Regions from separate parts of the Homo sapiens genome. Here region 2 is linked to region 1. The links are contacts of gene promoters, found by promoter capture Hi-C in blood cells and fetal thymus (Javierre and others, 2016). All regions are on one chromosome and are shown on one strand. The core of a region is centred on a gene start or on the middle of the fragment in contact, and the rest is flanking DNA. Distances in the headings are between cores, read along the strand shown. Region 1 holds the start of NCAM2 (neural cell adhesion molecule 2). Region 2 has its middle 62 kb from the start of MIR6130.

Region 1 (5,321 bases), core at 1,736-4,235:
ACTTCACAATAACATTCTAACCTTACTTCATTATACATTAATCTTGCAGTGGAAATTAGAGGCTTTTAAAGGAGTATTTCTGCTACAATAAAAAAAAGCGTCTTACTACTGTACAACAATAAGGTTGTATTGAGAGTTACAAGTAAACTATTAGGCCTTGTTAGCTAATTATAGTATTGGCATTCACTTAAGTTAGTCAGTTTCTCACTTAATGTCATTTTCTCCTATTCAACTGCTTCAGTTCAAAACGTTTTGACTCCTAAAAAGGGAATACATCATTGTTGCCTTTCCTCAGTCTAACTGCACACCACTTTCCAAAGCAATAGCTTCAATCATGCTTCATAAAATCCCCTGCAAGTATACTGTTGGACACATAAATCAGCAAGCTGAGATTTTAGTATTTCTAAGGCAAGACCAGGGATCACTGACTGGTGGCTTTTCCATGGCCCTCTTTACAAGAGAATAAACAAAATCATGAGTTACACTAGGTCTGTTTTTTTAAACAGCTCCCGGTGGTGTGTCTGATACTTGCTGCTGCATCCTTAATTAGAGAACAAAACACTAGCATAGAGGAATTGGACTCCAGGATGAGGATATCTATATCCAAGCATCTCTGACTTCATCAGGACACATGGCATAGAAGTACTATATGTTCCCTTTCACAAAAGCTACGTCTCTCTGATATATATCTGTGTCTCTATGAGTGCCACACATTGTGAAATTGTACTAGATAGAGAGATCTTTACAATGATGGTCTCCTTCTACCCTGTTTCATTACAGTGAATATGGGCTCCCCTTCAGAGATGCTTGTCTCAGAGTGCCTCTTCATAACCACCTCGTATCCTGACTTACAAATTAGCTGAATCACAATTTCACATCTATGTTACATGTACACATCCAAATTTTATGTCTCTGTGTACTATTTAAACCTATATATCTAAACATTTCTAATTTCCTATGTCTCCAAATTCCAACACACTTAGCCTCTACAATGATAAATTCAGATTCCACAACTGAGACATTTTTCTTCTCCAAACCACTCACAATGTAATCCTAAGTCTGCATAAACTTGTTTCCTATTATGCTCCCATTCTGCCCCACACTACCTACACTTATTTAATTGCAGTTGTATTTTAACTGCAATTTTCAGGGATTGTTTCTTGGTGCTCAAAAATACCTGTCTATGCTATAAATGAACAGTTAAACACAATCAGCAGCTATCTGAAAATTAAAGAAGCATATCTGTAGGACATATGTGCATGCTGATCTTTGCTTAAGAACCACTGAATTAACGAATTGGGCTAGTATTAGCTTCAGATGGACATATCTGCAATTTTGCTAAGACTGAAATATTTCATACTCTATGTTAGGAAGGGAAAATGAGCAGAATCTTATCAAGACACTTTACAAACTATAGGAATATCCAACATTTGCATACTGATTTCTGAACATTAAATCTGCATCCAATCGTGTTTCATCCGCCACTAACACTATAGCTGTGGGGAGGAGAAGGGCAGAAAAAGGAAGGCTTCACATCCAAAATGTCAAGCCCTGCTGAAGAATGATAGAAGGACTCTGTGGAAGAGCAGAAACCAACTTCTGGGCTTAAAATGGAGTTCTACCACCCCCTGCTGGACCAAACGAGCAATACAGAAGAGGCTAAAAATGCTTAGAACTGAATATCTTGGGGATATTTTAACTTGTCTTGTAATTTATTATATTATTTTAAAAAACCAATTTCACACTACACTAACAACATAACATTCTTTGCAATCATTACATATCTCAAAATTAGTGCTATTTTATTTTTCCTTTAAAGACTTTCACCAATGCATGTTTTAGCATTTTGTGTCCCTAATTAAACGTCCAAACTTGTCTGGACAGTTGAAAATGCTTCCATTTATTGTAAATATATTTCATGTGAGTGTTTACTATCTAAACAGCCAGATAAATTCATATCTATCTCTCTAGAGACAAACAGTGATAGCTTCCACAAATTCCCTCTCAGGTTATTCTACCAGGCTATTCATTTTTTTTTTTTAAGAGATAAAAGCTTCCACCAGTTCTCCCACAACCCCAAAAATCCTCTACAGGTGTAATTACAATGTAATGTTATAAAATGATTCCACCTTTCTGTATTAATAAGGGGTTGGGGTCAAAATGAATGACTGCAACACATCCCTAGTTTTATCCATTTGCTTTCTTACACACAATATCCACGGCCCCTCTCTTAGTTTCCAACAGAAATAAGCCATCATCATTCACTTCATAGTCAGGAATTAGGGTTTTGGGAAAGGGGTGGAAAAAAAAAAGAGTCTCCAAGAATCGAACGTCTTGCACACAGCAGATATTTTGCAAATGAGTTTAACACTGATAGTTTTTGCTGCTTCTGTAAAACACCATCGTGCCCTTTCCTTCCGCAACCTCAGATATTTCACTGTTAACACACTCATCCAATTTCTGATAATAAAAATAAGAGAAAGCCATAATCCCAGAGGAAAAAAAAAGAAGAAGAAGAAGCGGTTTCCCTGGATATCCTGCTCACCGATTCCCCTCTCCAATTCTGTATTTTCCCTTCTCTTATTTAAGGGTCTCCACACAACAGATACAATTTTAGGGACAGCTAGGAGAAAGAACGAAAATAATAATAACAACAACAGCAATAACTGTAACTTTAGTTCTTTCATTTCATTCTTCCTGCGCCTCCCTCTTTGCCTCTCTTGGCCGGGTGGAAGGGGGAGGGAAAGTAAATGCAATAAAGCGCCACACTCCTACCTTGCCCGCTACTGACAAGCAACCCCAGCAGGTAGAAGGAGAGGAGGAGGCTCATGTTCAGGACGTGACACCGGTGGACAGTTTCAAAGTTATTAAGTCCAGCCCTGGAGAGAGAACCTTTCGCTGCCCCGGCCGCCTCTGCTAGAGCCGCCGCCGCCGCTCCCGCGGTGCCCCAGCCGCCCGCAGCCCGCGCGCTCCTCCTCGCAAAGTGACTGCAAGCTCCGCTCTTGCCGCACTATATCCAGGCAGCGGCGGCGGCAGCGGCGGCAGAAGCAGCAGCAGCAGCGGCCGCCGCGGCGGCAGCAGAGCCGGGCGGGGAGGGCGGCGGGGGCGGGGGCGCGGCGAGGGGAGGTGCGGCCGAGGCGTATCCCTCCGCGCTGCACGGCGGCCGCTCTTCCGCGAGGCGCGCGGTCCCGGGATTCGTCCGCAGTGGAGCTCGAAGTCACGGGTTCGGTCCCCGGTGCCTCCGCCTAGAGGGGCGGCCGCGATCGCGAAGGCGCCACTCGCCCGCCGGCCATCCGCAGGTTCATGCACGCCCTGAGCCGAGAAGGGCGTGGGGATGGGGGCAGCCTGGAGCTCCTTCACAGCCGCCGGCTGCCTCAGGACAGCTGAGCTGATGCTGAGCTGAGCTGAGCTGAGCTGATGCTCATGCAGATGCTGATGCTGATGCTGATGCTGATACTGATACTGCAGGCGACCGCCCCGAGCGCGCCCCGGCTCAACGTGAATGGGGGATCTGGAGGCGGGCGGTGTGCCCCGCAGCTTATTCCTTTTGGGCGTGGGAGGAGGGAGATTCTTGTCTCTCCGTGGACCTCCTTCTCCCTCTCTCGCTCAAACCTGGAGCAGGCTGGCCCCTTGCGCGGCTGTCCCCTTCCCACGCTCCCCACCCCGCCGCGACAGAGGGGAAGCAATTGTACCCTAAAGTCTACACTGTCTGTCTCCTCAGGCGCTAAAGGGTGGGCGGAAAAATAACGTACAGAGTGTTTCCTCTACATCTCGACCCATTGCTGTTGGGAGCGGCACCTTACGGGAGAGACACTGGAGAGGGGACGAGCCGCGGGAGGGGCTGCGTTCAACTCAGCCTTAGCCTCAGCTGTGTCCTTAGAGGCCTGAAGTCTCTCCTGGCCTCACTCCGCGGGCTCTGCCCTCGGTCCCAGTGCGCTGCACTGGCCAGATCCCCGCCAGGAGTGCACCGAGGGAGGACTGCAAATGTGCAAAGATGAGTTGGGTCGCGGGGGGGAGACCTTCCCCAGATCAGTGCCCTACCCCGAACACCCACGTACCCGCGTGTGCGAGTGTAAATTGAAGTGAGGGAGCCGTGGCAAACGCCCGGAACTAACTCTCTGCTCCTTAAGATTGGGGCTTATCGTTATTTCTCCTAGAAGGGTAGGAAAACGTTTGTGAGATTAACGTCACCTCTCCTGCAAGAGCGGTTAAGAGGCAGAATCACCGGCCCGGGTGCGGAGCCCATGTCAATCTGGCCTGGGGTTACCGCGACCTGCAAACGCTGACGATGGGTCCTTTCATCTGCACTTTCTCTCTGGCTCCTTAGAAAACTCAACTGCCTCGCCCCGGCCTCCACAAGGACCCTAGCTCCTTCCTTATCAGTGAGGACATAGAAATAGCGGGGGTTGGAGAGGGGGGAGGTAGAAATGTAGAGCTCAGAATCCAGCCCCAGCCTGGGGATTTCACGCTGAAAAGGGCAGTGCATTGCCTTCAGGGAGGGCAGGGGGCAAGAGTAGACACAGGCTAACATGCATAGGGGAGATACCGTCTGCGATTTGTCCTCCCCAGGCAGAGCGCTTTATACAGATGATTCGTCCACTTGGCATCCTGGGATGGGGTTATCAGGAAGAGAGGAGGGGAAAGGCGGCCCTCAACTCACCATCGCTGAACTGCCTTAAGCAATGGCCCTCTCAGCACCTCACAGCTAGAGAACCTCTTATTTCCTCTTGATCTTATAGCAGACAATATATTTAGAAAGTTATTTTGCCACGGTACCCTTCTCACACCCTTTACTGGTTCTGGAATGCACTAACCACACTTAAGTAAACTCATGGTCAGCTCTTTGCAGGAAAGGGTGGAAGTAGCACATTTATAGATGTGAAAGACCGTGACTCATTTATTTACTCCAATTCTTCATTTCTCTTGGGCATTGATAAATGCTACACAGTAGGCCTTCTGCGTCCACAGTTCTACATCCTCAGATTCTACCAACCATGGATGAAAAATAACTTTAAAAAAAATGAAACAATGATACAATCAAAATAACGTAAATAAAAAAATACAGCAAAGTGACTATTTACAAAGCATTTGCATTATATAATGTATTACACCTAATCCAGAGATGATGTAATATGCAGGAGGTTATATGCAAATTTATGCTATTTTATATAAGGGACTTGAGCATCCAAGGATCTGTGAGAGTATTGAAACTAGTCCCCCCTGTGGATACCAAAGAATGACTTCAGCACACACACACACACACACACACACACACACACACACACACAAAATCACAGAAGACAGTTAAAAGTATACTCTGT
Region 2 (5,585 bases), core at 2,332-4,831, 2.0 Mb before region 1:
TATTCTGCCATAAGTTATTCCATTGTGCTTGGAAGGAGAAGTCTTGAATATGATTTAAAATCTAACACAAATTGCATTTTTCTTGCCATCATTTCTCATCCTACTTTTAAAAATAATCCAGTTTGCCTTATATCTTATTTTCTCTTTATCTGGCTTGTCATTCTCATTTTAAGTATAGTGGTTGTGCCTTTTGGCCTATATAATTATTCATTTATTTATTCAAAAATATATGTGAGATTGTCTATTTTATTGGAAGTAATGTTAAGTAAGATGGTTAAATACTTATCTGTTAAAACTGGAAGGTTAATTGAAGACTATTTTTGCAGACATCAGATAATCAAATTTTAAATTTTATAATCTTTTTTTTTTTTACATTTAAAACCTGTGCAAGGTCACTGAAGACCAGCATATTGTGCTCTTTAAAGTTTTTCTTCAAAATAAGAATAGTAAGCATACAATCATTCTTTCTTATTTGCAAAAATGTGTTTATTAAAGTTCATTTATAGTCAGATTATTTTGAAGGACAGAGAGAAAACAAGGTATCTATATAATAAAAAGGTGATTCACTGTGTCTTCAAACCATGTGACACATTCAGAAATTCTGTTACATTCTAATTACACATGGTAAAAGTCAATATTTGTCCAAAAAAAAAGTATTTTCTCAGTTTAGTCCAGAACTTGCAATAAATTTGCAATAGAATGTGACATCATACAGCAACAGAAGAACAAAACCTTTACTCACAAACCAATAATTTACTGTGGCTGTTTTTCCCCAGTTATTATAATAAAACCTCAAATAGTGATAAATAAAAAGAAGAAAATCTGCCAGTTGAGATGACGGTAGTAAATACAGGCATCACTGGGTAGTAAGGTGAAGCACAGCCATAGATAGGGGGAGAGTTTGAGATGAGTCTCAGCTAACGAAGTAGTTATTTAAGAACTAAAAGAAAGGGCTACCAGGGAGTAGCAACAGAAAATCCTAGTGTCTTGGAGCAAAAATAAGCATAGAAAGTTCAAACTGACAAATTGAAGGAAACTAGTGTGGCTGGACTGGGATGAGATGAATTAGTTGTTGTTGGAGGGAAAAAGAGTGAATTCAAGATCCTCATTACTATGCTCTGATCTAAGTAGCTTTTACTTACCCAACTTTATATCCTACCTCTGTTTTCCCTGCTCATTGCACATCATTACTTCTTAGTATTCAAGCAAAAATGGTATGAGGCGTCTTGAAATTCTCGTGTTATCACCCTCCTTTCCCAATTCTACTAAGTAGTGAGTCATTTTTTCAATGGTGTCCTCCTACTCACATTCATATGAATGATTCTTCAATGCCATAGTGGATCTAGAGATAGAATATGGTTGTTGTCTATGGGATCCATACAACTTCCTCATGAAGTCCTACTTAATGGAGGAGGAATCTTCTTCATCCTTAAGATAATTTACAGGTGGAAAATTAACCTATGTTGAAAGCTTATGTACTACTAGAAAATGTTCAAAGTTCCTCAGCCTCTAGTAATATCCTTTATCTTCTTGACATCCCAACGTATTAGAGGTAGTTATATTACAGATGAGGAATCTGAAGTGCAAAGATGCTTACTTATTTCCTCAAGTTCTCACAACAAAGAAGGGATATAGCTGAGATTTAGAACAAAATGGGCTTACTTCAGGGCCCATGTTTTAATCAGTACAACATACCTCCATTTGTAGGAATCGCTGTATGTTTTCATCTTATTCCCAAGCAACTTTCAGCCATAAAACAAAGGTAAAAATGGAGAAAAAACAGAAAACCCATTCATGTCTAATGAATGAGGTCAATTAAATGCAAATAATTCATAATTTAGTATGTGACACATACAATATCTGGGGTTATAGTGACTATTTGTCCTTTAGCATGATTATCCACTTCACTTGCTCACCAGCAAAGCTATTCTTATTATATGCAATATTTATCCATTAAACACAGAACCACATAATTTTCTTTACCAATACCAGTGACATGAGAACCATTACACAGCAATTATTCATAGGAAGTGAGCTCAACATATTATAACTACATTAAGGAAGTTCCCACATATCTGAGTAATAGCTATATAATTTTTTTTCCTGAGATACAGCCTCAGAGTTTCTAATTCATAGATGCTGAATTGGGGAGAGAAACTATGAGGTTTTCTATACCCTGCAAGTGTGTTAATTTGCTCTATTTTAAAAAATCTAAAGGCCAGGACATTGGCTCATGCCTATAATCCCAGCACTTTGGGAAGCTGAGGCGGGTGCCTCCCTTGAGCCCAGGGGTTCGAGATCAGCGTAGGCAACATGGCAAAACCCCATCTCTACAAAAAATGCAAAAATTAGCCAGGTGTGGTGGTGTGACTGTAGTCCCAGCTACTCAGGAGGCTGATCAAAGGAGGATTGCTTGAGTCTGGGAGGTAAAGGTTGAAGTGAGCTGAGATTGCACCACTGTACTCTAGCCTGGATGACAGAGTGAGATCCTGTCTCAAAAAACAAAAAAAAAAAGAAAGGAAAAACCTCAGTCATGGTGAGTTTAAAATGCTTTTTAAGGTTCTGTTGATATTATAGTTAGTTAAAATAAGTCATAGACTCTTAAGTACACATCAAATGCAAACTTTAGTTTGCATGTGTATTGTGGAAGGGTTGTGAGTTTTCCATTTATTTCATGTATTTATAGACATCTTAGTAGTTATTGGGATAATCTTTCCTGGAAGCTTATAGTGATTGCTATTTATAACCAGTAATACAGGTTATATAATCTAAGCATAAATTTGTTCACTGTTTAAATATGAAAACATATATTTTTATTGCTTCTAATATCTACCGTTTATTTTATGTTTTACATTCTTTTTTTAAAATTAAGTTTTGTGAGTACATAGTTGGTGTACATATGTATGGGGTACATGATATATTTTTATCCAGGCATATGGCATATTTAAATGGAGATCTTTCAACCCAAACATTTATTTTTGTTACGACATTCAACTATACTCTTTTAGTTATTTTAAAATGTATAATATTGTTGACTATAATCACCCTGTTGTGCTACGAAATTATATTTGCTTTTTATAGAGCTCATTATCATTTGTCTTCATTATTCAATCATTTTTCATTTATTTTCTACGAATAAATTATTTTTCCCTTTTGAGGAACATAAAAATTTAATAATGTACTTCATGTTGAAAACTTGGAGGGAAGATAAATAGGTGATGATAGATACACGGATAGATAGATAAATGATAAAAAGAGAAATAGAAAGTAAAGCTGGGTGCTCTTAATATTTCATATGATCAGCATGATATTTGAAAAAATCATTAAAAATGACGAGAAAGTGGACAGTGAGTTGTTAGGGAAAGTTCACGTCAAGTAGGCCGAGGGCAGAGGAAGCCCATAGCCCAGAAGGTGGCAGTGTGTTTCACATATTTGACCAAGAACACACAGGACAACAAATGCTGGAGTAGTGTTGAGTGAAATGGGGAATTTTAAGAGGTTAAATGAAGGTCTAGATGTTGTAGGGCATTGAAAGTCATTGTGAACTTTATGGCTCCAATTTTGAAAGCAATGAAAAGTCCTTAGTTTGAAGCTGAGAAGGGACATGATGAGATGGTGTAGACATTGTGACATACAGGTCATCTCACACTTTGATGAGAATCTTGTTGCCTCAGCTACCAGGATAGTGATGGCAGGCAGACAGCCTTTACCTTCCAGGTAATTCAGAGTTTGCCACAGCTGCAGAGAGCTTGCCCAATATCATGCCCTTTTCAGGGTGCATCCCACAAGAATGGGCCTCTAAGCTCATCTTGGAAAACTTTGAGATAGCCCTAAAAGGTTTTTACAGCTCCAGAGCACCCAGTGAGATTGGCTGTGTCTGCAGTTGGGTCTTCTTTCAACTTTAACTTCTCCTTCTGCCTATGTTGCTTCTTTCTTCTTCCATCCATAGCTGCTAAAGGAAAAGAAACACCTTGATAAACCTACTGTGGATTAAACCCCATCTGAGAATCTGCTTATTGAGGAGACCAACTTCTGTGTATGTGACACAGGTCTTAACAGGCTAACTATGGTGGTTGTGTTGAGAAAAAAAAAAAGAGGAATAGCTAGAAGTAGAGAGAGTACTTAGGAGACTACTGAAATCATGCAGTGGTTTAGGTGTCCTGGACCTAGTTTACAGTAGATGAGGTAAAAAAAAAAAAAATACGCAGACAACTTCCAAATGTATTATCAATTTAATATCAAATATGGGGTGTGAGAGGAGATAACAGTCAATTGTGACTCCCAAATTTTGAAGACTAAGAAAAAAAGTTGCTATTAAATGAGATACAAAAGGCTGCATTAGAAGCAAGCAGATTTTGGGAAAAGTTCCTAAGTACAGTTTTGTCATTTTAGGTTAAGATGTCTTTTATACTGCAGAGTGCAAACGCACAAGAAGCTTGGAAATGCCAATCTGGAGTAAAGTGTAAAACAAAGCAGCAAACATAAAAAGCCGTGTTTACTCATTTCTGCTTGCCAGCATAATTTCACAATGCCTCTGGCTCTATGATGACATATAGGTCTCCAGAAAGATGCTTTGAAGACAAAATAGAATACAGAACATGGTCCCCTACGTCTCTTGCCTGAGCCACTACATTCTTCAAAAGATAAATGACCTAGGCTGGACGCAGTGGCTCACGCCTGTAATCCCAGCACTTTGGGAGGTCCAGGCAGGTGGATCATGAGGTCAGGAGATCGAGAGCAGCCTGACCAACATGGCAAAACCCCATCTCTACTAAAAATACAAAAAATAACCGGGCGTGGTGGCGCACATCTGTAATCCCAGCTACTCAGGAGGCTGTGGCGGGAGAATCGCGTGAACCTGGGAGGCGGAGGTTGCAGTGAGCCGAGATTGCACCACTGCACTCCAGCCGAGGCGACAGAGCAAGACGCCATCTCAAAAAAAAAAAAAAAAAAAAAAAAAAAGAAAAGAGAAATGACCTTAGCCTTTTCCTTTTCTTACACATAAGATTAATAATGTCTGACAGGGTTAGTTATTATGCTTCTGTAATCTAGAACTAAATGTACTCTTACACCCAAACCACAATGTGATTCTACTTTAATGTAACTTGTAAGCAGGTGCGATGTGATTTTGCAAGTACTGAACCTCCACCATGGGTATATAAGAAGTGGGCTGAAATACTGATTGAATCTGTCTAAAGGGCTGCTCCTGAGACTCAGGCTTCAGTCTCTTCTCCCCAGTAAGATTAATGAATAAAATTCACCTTAATTCTGTAACTTGATTTATTTTCTGTAGTCAATGTGAATATAGCCACAGGCAAGAAGTATACGTTTAGAAATCATACAGGTTTAGATTATATTTAAAAACAATGAAGCGGGTTGGGAACACAAAAGAGTGTATGTGGAAAGATAAAGGATTCAAGGACTCAGGCCTGGAACCCTTCAGTGTAAAGAGGTGAAAGAATTGAGATGAAACTAAGAAAGAGTCACTGAAAATGGGTTTCTGGTGAAGGAGGACAGTGGTATTTATGAGGCAAGTGAAGCAAATATACAAATGAGGAGAGACTAATAATGTGTGTTAAATTCTG

What was found. The method cuts DNA at HindIII sites, captures the fragments that hold promoters and counts their contacts. A CHiCAGO score of 5 or more calls a contact.
Region 2: a fragment that was not itself captured here is called in contact with the fragment with the promoter of NCAM2 in region 1 in 1 of 17 cell types (endothelial precursors); the score reaches 7.1 in endothelial precursors.

The regions. Positions count from the first base shown.
Region 1 is chr21:20,996,073-21,001,393 of GRCh38, reverse strand. It overlaps NCAM2 (neural cell adhesion molecule 2), which reads right to left and starts at 2,985. Exons shown (of 18, transcript NM_004540.5): 1 at 2,776-2,985. The coding sequence starts at 2,830. The HindIII fragment of the contact is 4,236 bases long and covers 2,056-5,321 here.
Region 2 is chr21:23,014,641-23,020,225 of GRCh38, reverse strand. No RefSeq gene overlaps it. Among named protein-coding and RNA genes, the nearest start is that of MIR6130, 62 kb to the left of the region's middle. The HindIII fragment of the contact is 1,712 bases long and covers 2,726-4,437 here.